Linked DNA regions of Homo sapiens: all the other regions are linked to region 2. Evidence: promoter capture Hi-C in human tissues and cell types (Jung and others, 2019). All regions are on one chromosome and are shown on one strand. The core of a region is centred on a gene start or on the middle of the fragment in contact, and the rest is flanking DNA. Distances in the headings are between cores, read along the strand shown. Region 1 overlaps ZNF207 (zinc finger protein 207). Region 2 holds the start of LRRC37B (leucine rich repeat containing 37B). Region 3 overlaps C17orf75 (chromosome 17 open reading frame 75).

What was found. Contacts are between HindIII fragments. The study calls those that stand out against the background at their distance.
Region 1: a fragment that was not itself captured here is called in contact with the fragment with the promoter of LRRC37B in region 2 in 3 of the 25 tissues and cell types used here (hippocampus, spleen and thymus).
Region 3: a fragment that was not itself captured here is called in contact with the fragment with the promoter of LRRC37B in region 2 in 2 of the 25 tissues and cell types used here (bladder and dorsolateral prefrontal cortex).

The regions. Positions count from the first base shown.
Region 1 is chr17:32,371,685-32,374,842 of GRCh38, forward strand. ZNF207 (zinc finger protein 207) reads left to right here. Exons shown (of 12, transcript NM_001098507.2): 12 at 1-3,158. Among named protein-coding and RNA genes, the nearest start is that of ZNF207, 23 kb to the left of the region's middle. The HindIII fragment of the contact is 3,452 bases long and covers 1-3,158 here.
Region 2 is chr17:32,005,405-32,008,652 of GRCh38, forward strand. It overlaps LRRC37B (leucine rich repeat containing 37B), which reads left to right and starts at 1,979. Exons shown (of 15, transcript NM_001321350.2): 1 at 1,979-2,728. It overlaps LOC124903972, which reads right to left and starts at 2,303. Exons shown (of 4, transcript XM_047437248.1): 1 at 1,972-2,303; 2 at 1,203-1,301. The coding sequence starts at 2,303. RefSeq lists an enhancer at 980-1,902 and silencers at 1,945-1,994, 2,035-2,384. The HindIII fragment of the contact is 11,687 bases long and covers 1-3,248 here.
Region 3 is chr17:32,337,120-32,339,946 of GRCh38, forward strand. It overlaps C17orf75 (chromosome 17 open reading frame 75), which reads right to left. Exons shown (of 10, transcript NM_022344.4): 3 at 2,694-2,819; 4 at 1,089-1,232; 5 at 778-835. Among named protein-coding and RNA genes, the nearest start is that of C17orf75, 3.6 kb to the right of the region's middle. The HindIII fragment of the contact is 3,781 bases long and covers 1-2,827 here.

The DNA.
Region 1 (3,158 bases), core at 409-2,908, 370 kb after region 2:
TGAGCTATGTTCACTCCAGCCTGGGCAACAGAGCGAGACTCTGTCAAAAAATAAATTAAAATATCTGATTATCTGGCTTCAATGATTTTGGCTCCTGTGCTTGTGGTACCATAGTGGTACAAAAATTTTCATAGTTTGAAAATAAAACAGGTATTTTGCCAGTAATGTATTTCTTTCTGCCAGCAGCCAAGTCCCAAACCACTTTCCCCTCTGAACCTCTGCTTACCTAAATGGTTTCAAAATTAATACATGCTGCTTTGATTTGGCAGCACACTTAATATACTGCTGAAGGAAAACTTGTGTTGAAAGTCTTTAAGATAAAAATGGTGTGATAGGCCGGGCGCAGTGGCTCACGCCTGTAATCCCAGCACTTTGGGAGGCCCAGGCGGGTGGATCATGAGGTCAGGAGATGGAGACCATCCTGGCTAACACGGTGAAACCCCGTTTCTACTAAAAATACAAAAAATTAGCTGGGCGTAGTTGCGGATGCCTGTAGTCCCAACTACTCTGGAGACCGAGGCAGGAGAATGGCGTGAACCCGGGAGGCATAGCTTGCAGTGAGCGGAGATCACACCACTGCACTCTAGCCTGGACGACAGATTGAGACTCCGTCTCAAAAAAAAAAAATGCTGTGATTAAATTTAGAATAATTAAGTAAGGGGTGCTCTCCCAAATTCTCAGGAATTTCATGTATACGGTTATTGACAAACTGCAATAGGGTTAGTAGACCTGTTTCAGAAATTATGTGAAGCTTTATTTGCATTTTATGCAAAGAAGGTTGATACTTTGTAGCAAGGTTTTTTGCTCTCTGTATAGGTCTGATGGGCAAAAATGGAACTTTTAAATATGGGATAGAATTCTAATTAAAAATTAATTGAAAGTGTTAGGCATTGGCAGATAAAACTTAAGCTCATGAGTTCCTGAGTTTGTAGCTATAGGCTCAGAGGTGGTGTACCCATTTAATATATTTGAAGTGTAATTTTTGCATGCATCCAAACGTAATTAAGCTTCTAGAAAATACCTTTTTTCTAAATGCTTCTGGGGTCCATAGTGTGGTTGAATTATGAGTGGAGCAAATTATATTCATATAATTAACTCTGACTCAACCTTCCTTAAGTAGTAGATGAAGTTGAGTCAAAGTGGATGCCAACTGCCCTCACAGAAGACAACTTTTGGGACTTGATAATTCAGGCAGGCATTGTGATTGTCATAATTAAGGAAGCTGTAAGGTTAGTAGGGCTGGCAACTTTGGCTCTACCTTACATCCACCCCTTTTAGAAAAACAAGAAAACATTTTGTCTGGCACTAGTTTCTGTTGTATAAGTTTTCATACTGTTTAACAAGACCACAGCAGGTAAGGATTAATTTTTGAGTGGCTGCTGGAATTACTTGATTTGAATACTTAGTATTTTAGTAGTGTCTCACACATTTGCCATTAGGTATGAATAAAATATTCCTACTGTACTCCTATTCCACTAAGTTACATTTTGAACTTAGACTCACCTTAATTAAACTTAATTAATTGGGGAGGGGGATTCCCCAACAAAAAGAAGTACGGGCTCAGAGTGGAATTGTAGTGGACAATAGTTAAAAACAAAGCTGCTCCTTTTGCTTGCTTGATCATTGGGATTTTTAAAAAAAAAAATTTTAATGCATGTCTTTTAAATTAATTGGGAACTGTTTTTCTAAAATTAAAATTTTCTTCTTCCTATAGCCCTGCCATAGGACAGGCTGAGGCTGAGTCTCAGTGTTGCCCTGTTCAGTCTGAGGCAAGTGGGATTTATTTTATTCCTTATAGGGGCTTTCACAGCTTTATGGCTGTTGGATATTTATGTCCCCAAACTTGCAGCAAGTTTGGTGAAGGCCCCTAAATTTAATTAAACTTAGGATTTTTATACTCTTTTGGCAGAGAAGGCTCTATATTAATATTCACGTTTGACTGTGGTGTTAATAAACATAAGTATTTCATATGCAATTTTATGTAATTTGCTGTGTGTTACATAATTAACAGCTTCAGTAAAGCTTGTGTTCCTATATTGAACTTCAATAAATTGACAAAATTTGATATTTTTGATTGGAGGCAAGAAATGTTTCATTCAAGTTTTTTACTTTCACTTCTAGGAAAATCTTACTGGTTTTATTTTCTCCATAAACTATTAAATTTAACCTCAAGGATAAGTTTAATCATTGGAAATGCCACTGGATACTGAAATGTGCCTTCTCTTTTTTGAGACGGAGTTTCACTCTTATCACCCAGGATGGAGTGCAGTGGTGCGATCTCGGTTCACTGCAACCTCTGCCTCCCGGATTCAAGTGATTCTCCTGCCTCAGCCTCCCGAGTAGCTGGGATTATAGGCTCCCGCCACCACATCTGGCTATTTTTTCAATATTTTTCAGTAGGGATGGGGTTTTGCCGTGTTGGCCAGGCTGGTCTCAAACTCCTGACCTCAGGTGATCCACCCATCTCAGCCTCCCAGAGTGCTGGAGTAGCAGGTGTGAGCCACCGCGCCTGGCCAAAATCTGCATTCTTTTTTTTTTTTTTTTTTTTTTTTTGAGACTGTCTCGCTGTGTCACCCAGGCCAGAGTGCAGTAGCACGATCTCAGCTCACTACAACCTCCACCTCCTGGATTCAAGCGATTCTCCTGTCTCAGCCTCCCGAGTAGCTGGGACTACAGGTGCTTGCCACCACACCCGGCTAATTTTTTGTATTTTTAGTAGAGACGGGGTTTCACCGTGTTAGCCAGGATGGTCTCGATCTCCTGACTTTGCGATCCCCCTGCCTCGGCCTCCCAAAGTGCTGGGATTACAGGCGTGGGCCACCGCGCTTGGCCAAAATCTGCATTCTTAATCACAAACTTACGCATTGAATGTTAAGGCTAAAAGGTCATCTGGAAATGCTTAATTTTAAAATATTTTCAAGCCTCACCACATTAGAGCAAATGTTAATGTAGAGCCCTGTAAAGGTGGGAAGGTGGTGTCTATGTGTGTGCTTGTGTATGTGGGGGTATAGACCATATAGTTGATATAACAACAGAATTTGGGTGTTACAGACCTTTCAGCATGGATGGATTACTAATTTTCAGGTATCGAAACTGAAATTTGATACCTGATCCTGTGGTAAAGTATGTTAAACTATGGTTTTGGAGTGATTATTTTG
Region 2 (3,248 bases), core at 729-3,228:
GCCAGGCTAACCTCGAACTTCTGGGCTCAAGTGATCCACCCACCTGGCTTCCTAAAGTGCTGGGATTACAGGTCTGAGCCACCACACCTGGCCACCCTCTTCAAACAAAATATGAGCATTTCCATTGGCCTAGGTCTTCACCTTGTCTACTTTATTGACTTACATTACTTACCTAGTCCCTGAAGACATAACACACATTTGCCACCCTTAGAGCTCAACCAAACTGTATTGAATGCATGTATTTGGCAATTAGTGCTTGTATTTTAATTTTCATTTCACATATGTGTTCCATTTTCCTAACTAGATTGAAATAAGCCATCTCCTATTAGGTATTTTTCTTTCTTTTTTAAAAATTTTGAGACAGGGTCTTGCTCTGTCACTCAGGCTGGAGTGCAGAGGTGCAATCATGGCTCAGTGCAACATCCACCTCCCAGGCTCAAGCGATCCTGCCCCCTCACCCTCTGGCGTAGCTGGGACCACAGGTGCGCACCACCATGCCCGGCTAATTTTTCAATTTTTTTCTAGAGACGAGGTCCTGCTATGTTGCCCAGGCTAGTCTCAAACTCTTGACCTCAAGCAATCGTCCGGCTTTGGCTTCTCAAAGGGCTGGGATTGCAGGCATGAGCTATCGCGCCCGGCCAAGTATTTTTGTTTAAATTACTTTTTGGTTGTCACTTATCTCAATAAATATTAACATATGTTTACGAAACCTTTCTTTTTCTTTTTTTTTTTTTTTTTTTTTTTTTTTTTTTGAGACGGAGTCTCGCTCTGTCTCCCAGGCTGGAGTGCAGTGGCGCGATCTCGGTTCACTGCAACCTCCGCCTCCCGGATTTTACGCCATTCTCCTGCCTCAGCCTCCCGAGTAGCTGGGACTACAGGCGTGCACCACCTACGCCCGGCTAATTTTTTTTGTATTTTTAGTAGAGATGGGGTTTCACTGTGCTAGCCAGGATGGTCTCGAACTCCTGACCTTGTGATCCGCCCGCCTCGGCCTCCCAAAGTGCTGGGATTACAGGCGTCAGCCACTGTGCCCGGCAAACCTTTCTCTTATCTGAAGAACTGACCTCAACCACTCAGGGTTGAGTCCCTGTGATAAGGTTTGAGGGTGCCTGAACTGTCACCATGATTCGTCCCCTGGGCTGAGCTCAAACCTAGTGATTTGTCAGGTAAATAAATTAAGGTTATTTCCCGATAATACAGACCTGTAACACCGTGAAGTAGGTTTTAGGCAGGATTCCCTCTTTTCCACTGCAAAGGAGAGGTAAGTTCTTGCTAAGGTGGTCAGGCTCCTAGCTGGGACACTGGGAAGGTGGCGGGAGATTGGAACATGCAGTAGTTGCATTCTGGAGTTTACTGAGGCTTTCCGAGTGGGGATCCCATGCAACAGGTCTTAGGGACCCCCCTCCCTCCAGGCGTGGCAGCCCGGGGTGTGGCTCCTGGCACAGATCCGGAGCAGTTGTCATCGGAGTCAATTCAGGACTCCACTTCCAAGCTTCGGAGTTTCCTAAATTCTGGGGGCTTGTCTCCCTGTACCCCACCCCGACTAATTTTCCTCGGTCGCTGGCGCTGCCCCGTCCCTTAGGTCGCTCGGGCCGCCCCCCTCCGCGACTTTTTTTTTCTTTCTCTCGCTGCCTCTTTCAGCCTCAGTTTCCCTAGAGGGCGGGAGGGGAACGATATTTGGGGGCTCTCCTGCCTTCCTCTCCGAGCCGCGGAAGGGGAGTCGCGGGAAGGAGACCCGGCAGGCTTTGGGCTCCAGCCAGGGGTCCGCGGAGACTGTGGTCTCCGAAGGCCTTAGACGCGGGGCTTGTCAGGAGCTGCGGGCCTCTTTCAGCCGCGCCACCCGCACCCGGAGCGCCGTGCTGCGCCAAGTCCAGGCGCCCCGAGCTCTCCGCCCCCGACTCAATGCTCCCGCGCTCCCCCTAGCGGCCGCCGCGCCACCTCGCCCCCTTCCCAGGCTGGGCGGCGGCGCACCTCACGTGACCGCGCTCCTGTAGAGGGAAGAAACAAGGTGGCGGTTGAAGGCGATCTTGAGTGGGGCCCCAGCAATTCGGTTGAGCCTTCTCCCTCCACTCGCTTCCGCCGGCCGGGCCCCTCCCGCCCAGCCCCTCGGGCCTCCCAACCCGGCCCCGGCGCTCCCCACCGCCGCCACTGCGCCCGGCCCTCCCCGTCAGCTTTCCCTTCTCCCGCCGCCTGGGCTCCAACAAGAGGGGCCGGCGGGGCAGGCCGACCAAGCAGCCCGCGGCTCCCGCTGCGGAGCGCTGCGCCCCGGCCCCGCCGCCGCCGCCGCCCACGTCCGGACCCATCGGGGGCTCCCCTCGCCGATACGCGGTAGTAGCCGGGGCAGGTGGGCAGCCGCCAGGCTGAGGTGGCGCCCAAGACGCGGCTGAGCTCGCCCAGGGTGGGCAGCAGTAGCCGGAGGAAGCCACCGCCGCCGGCCCGCCCCGCGCCGGCACCAGCGCACGGGCCCGGCGGGGGCGCGGGGGCAGCCACCTAGCCCGGACCACCGCAGCCCGGAGGGCTGTCAACAGAGTGGTGTATGATGACTACGAGAGCGAGGAGGAGGAGTAAGAGGAGGGGGGCGGCGATGCCGAGGAGACCCAGGAGTCTGAGGACAACTAGGAGGATGACATGGAGGAGGACGACGATGACTCCGATTATCCGGAGGAGCTGGAAGATGACGACGAGGACGCCAGTTACTCCACGGAAAGCAGCTTCAGCAGCACTCCAGGTACCCACCCAGCGCAGTTGCTGCAGACTCATTCCCCACCTCCTCTCCCCTCCCCCCTTGCTCACTTATGTGCTGTGCATCCCGCTCCGATCTCCCGCCAACCCCGCCGACCCCTAAACTTTAGAGGGGAAATGGGAGGGCACATCAAGTGGCAAAAAACTAGATTTATAAGAGGAAAGAAGCACATTGTTCAAAATGGAGATTGCATTGTTGCAGGCCGCACTCGCTTGCTCCCCGTCCCCCCAACTCCCTTTTTTTCTCCTCAAAATTTGTGCCAGTGCAGTGTCTCCACCGGGCAGGATTGAAACTTTGGCAAACACATATCCATTGCATTCATTTTTCTCCCCTTGTTTTGGTGTGGTTTTCTGGAATGAAAGAAGCCTCTTGTTTTGCAAACCTCTTTGCATTTCTAATGTGTTTCCTTTCGGATTTTCATTATATATCTGTTCCTTAAAAGGGAATTAAGGATTTGTACAGATTGTGGCACACAGACACACAGAAAAACATGCCTGTGTTCACA
Region 3 (2,827 bases), core at 254-2,753, 330 kb after region 2:
CTGGGTGATAGAGTGAGACCCTATCTCAAAAAATGAAAAAGAAAAAGAAACCACCTGTAGGCTGGGCACAATGGCTCGTGTCTGTAATCTCAGCACTTTGGGTGGCTGAGGAGGGAGGATTGCTTGAGGCCAGGAATCCTAGACCAGCCTGGGCAACAAAGTGAGATCCCCATCTCGACAAAAAATACCAAAAGTTAGCCAGGCGTGTTGGTATTTGCCTGTAGTCCCAGCTGTTTAGGAGGCTGAGGCGAGAAGACTGCTTGAGCCCCAAGAAGCTGAGGCTGCAGTGAGCCTGATCGCGCCACTGCCCTGCAGCCTGGGCAACAAAGCAAGACCCTGTCTAAAAAAAAAAAAAATTCACCTCTCTACTAGCTCACAAGGTGGCAAGTTTCTAGAATACAGGCGTCTTTGTGTCTACCTATATGATTTGACAAGTAGAGCAATCACAGTATATTAATCATTTCAGTCATTATTTTATTTTTTTAACTCTGTCGCTCAGGCTGGAGTGCAGTGGTGCAATCTCGGCTCACTGAAACCTCTGCCTCCCGGGTTCAAGCGATTCTCCTGCCTCAGCCTCCCAAGTAGCTGGGACTACAGGTGCCTGCCACCATGCCTGGCTAAGTTTTAGTAGAGATGAAGTTTCATCATATTGACCAGGCTGGTCTCTGACCTTGTGATCTGCCCACCTCGGCCTCCCAAAGTGCTGGGATTACAGGCGTGAGCCACTGAGCCTGGCCCCATTTCAGTCTTTAAAAACCATTAAGTCAGTCACCTTACCTCACAATTCATGTTATTTTTCAGCCCTTGAATGTACTTGTCCAATTCAAGCCTGAAAGTATGTTCTTAAGGAAGCAATAAAGGATGAATAATGAAGACAGTATTTCATCTCTCAACAAGAAATATAAAATCTCTCAAATAATGTGAGCTGCAAATGCAAACAAGCCAAGGCAAAATGGCCACATGAAGGTATGAAATTCAACTAAATACACGAGGAGTAGAAAAGCTTTTTGGAGGTTGGTAGTAATATTCTTCCACCTGCCTTCCCATGTTTTCCTTCCTGATGTTCTCAAAAACCAAAGAAAGGATATAGCTCAAGTCCTTTTTCAGACCCTCCTAAAAAACAGACCACATATTCTGAAGGGTTACGTTCAGAGTCTATCGTTACTGTTTCAGGAAGCAGTTTTTCATTTTGGAAAAGGCAGTAATAACAACCAACTCGGTAACCTGGAATTCTAGAAAAGAAAGAAAATGTAAAATGCATTATTTTGGTTACTCATGCATCTATAATTTTGTGGACTGCTCTGAATTCTGGTCATCTTGATCTGGCAACACCATTAAACTGCCCACTAACTCAGAGCTTCCCAGACTTCTCGTTGGTGTACTTGCAGCAGCAAAGAAAAATGAATGTATACCCTGGAGGGCTTTAGTTAAAGCAGCCACTAACATACATGAAATTTCTTTGAATTCTCCTGTCTTATGTGAAAAATTCACACAAATTTCACTCTAGTTCATACCCATGTTTATATTAAAAAAAAGTATGTTCTCCCCTCTCCCAAAGCTTCACAAATTGATGTTTAAGGCAGATGTGCCTGAAGGTGGCCTTATCCTTGGGAAGTGGCCTCAAACTCCTGAGGACCTGTATGCTAACTTCACGGTCTGAGTTGAACTAGAATAAAGAGGTGTAATGGAGGCCGGGCACAGTGGCTCACACCTGTAATCCCAGCACTTTGGGAGGCCAAGGCGGGTGAATCACCTGAGGTCAGGAGTTCGAGACCAGCCTGGCCAACATGGTGAAACCCCATCTCTACTAAAAATACAAAAATTAGCCGGGTATGGTGGTGCATGCCTGTAATCCCAGCTATTCGGGAGGCTGAGGCAGGAGAATTGCTTGAACCAGGGAGGCGGAGGTTGCAGTAAGCCAAGATCATGCTACTGTACTCCAGTCTGGGCAACAGAGTGAGACTCTGTCTTAAAAAAAACAAAACAAAACAAAAAAGGAGAGGTGTAATGGAAAGACAGTTGGAATTGGACTAAGAATGCTCATGTTTAAGCCTGAACTCCATCAATTTGACCAGCCTCATGACTTAAGTTTACATAAACTCTGAGTTTATTTCCTCATCTGAAAATGAAAATAAGAGAGTATCTGCTATATTTCCCCTTTGTAAGGAAAACTACATAAAAGTTTGTGAAAATACAAACTGTATACAAATTTAGTTTTAATAATCAACACTTTTCTTCTTCTAAGTACAAAACTTATTAGCCTGGGCAACATGGTAGGACCCCATTTCTAAAAAAAAAAAAAAAAAAAAATTAAAAAAATTGCTGGGCATCGTAGTGCCTGCCTGCAGTCCCAGCTACTTGGGAGGCTGAGGTGAGAGGATTGATTAAGCCCAGGAGGTCAAGGCTGCAGTGAGCTGTAATCGGGCCGCTGCACTCCAGCCTGGGCAACAAAGCAAGACCCTGTCTCAAAAAAAAATAAACTAATTAAATAAAGTGCAATTGGGTGCCAGGGTCTCTGCCATTCAATTAATTCCATTCCACAAATGTTTATGTGTGAGGCCCAGTGCTCGGGCTGCCAGAGAATAAAGACAAATTCTGCAGGTCTAGTAGGAGCTGATCTTTTGGAGTTTCTCATCACTTCTCATATTTAGTTCAGAAATAAAAACTCAGGACACAGCACATTTTGCACTTACTTTAGCTCCACAGATGCAACATTACCCAGCCCTTCAAAGACTGCACCTCTTGAAAGACGCTTAGCAATGAAACTGCGCAGCTCTGGCTCCACTTCGGATGGTAGATTAGTATCTGCCAAGGAGAGGCTTGACAA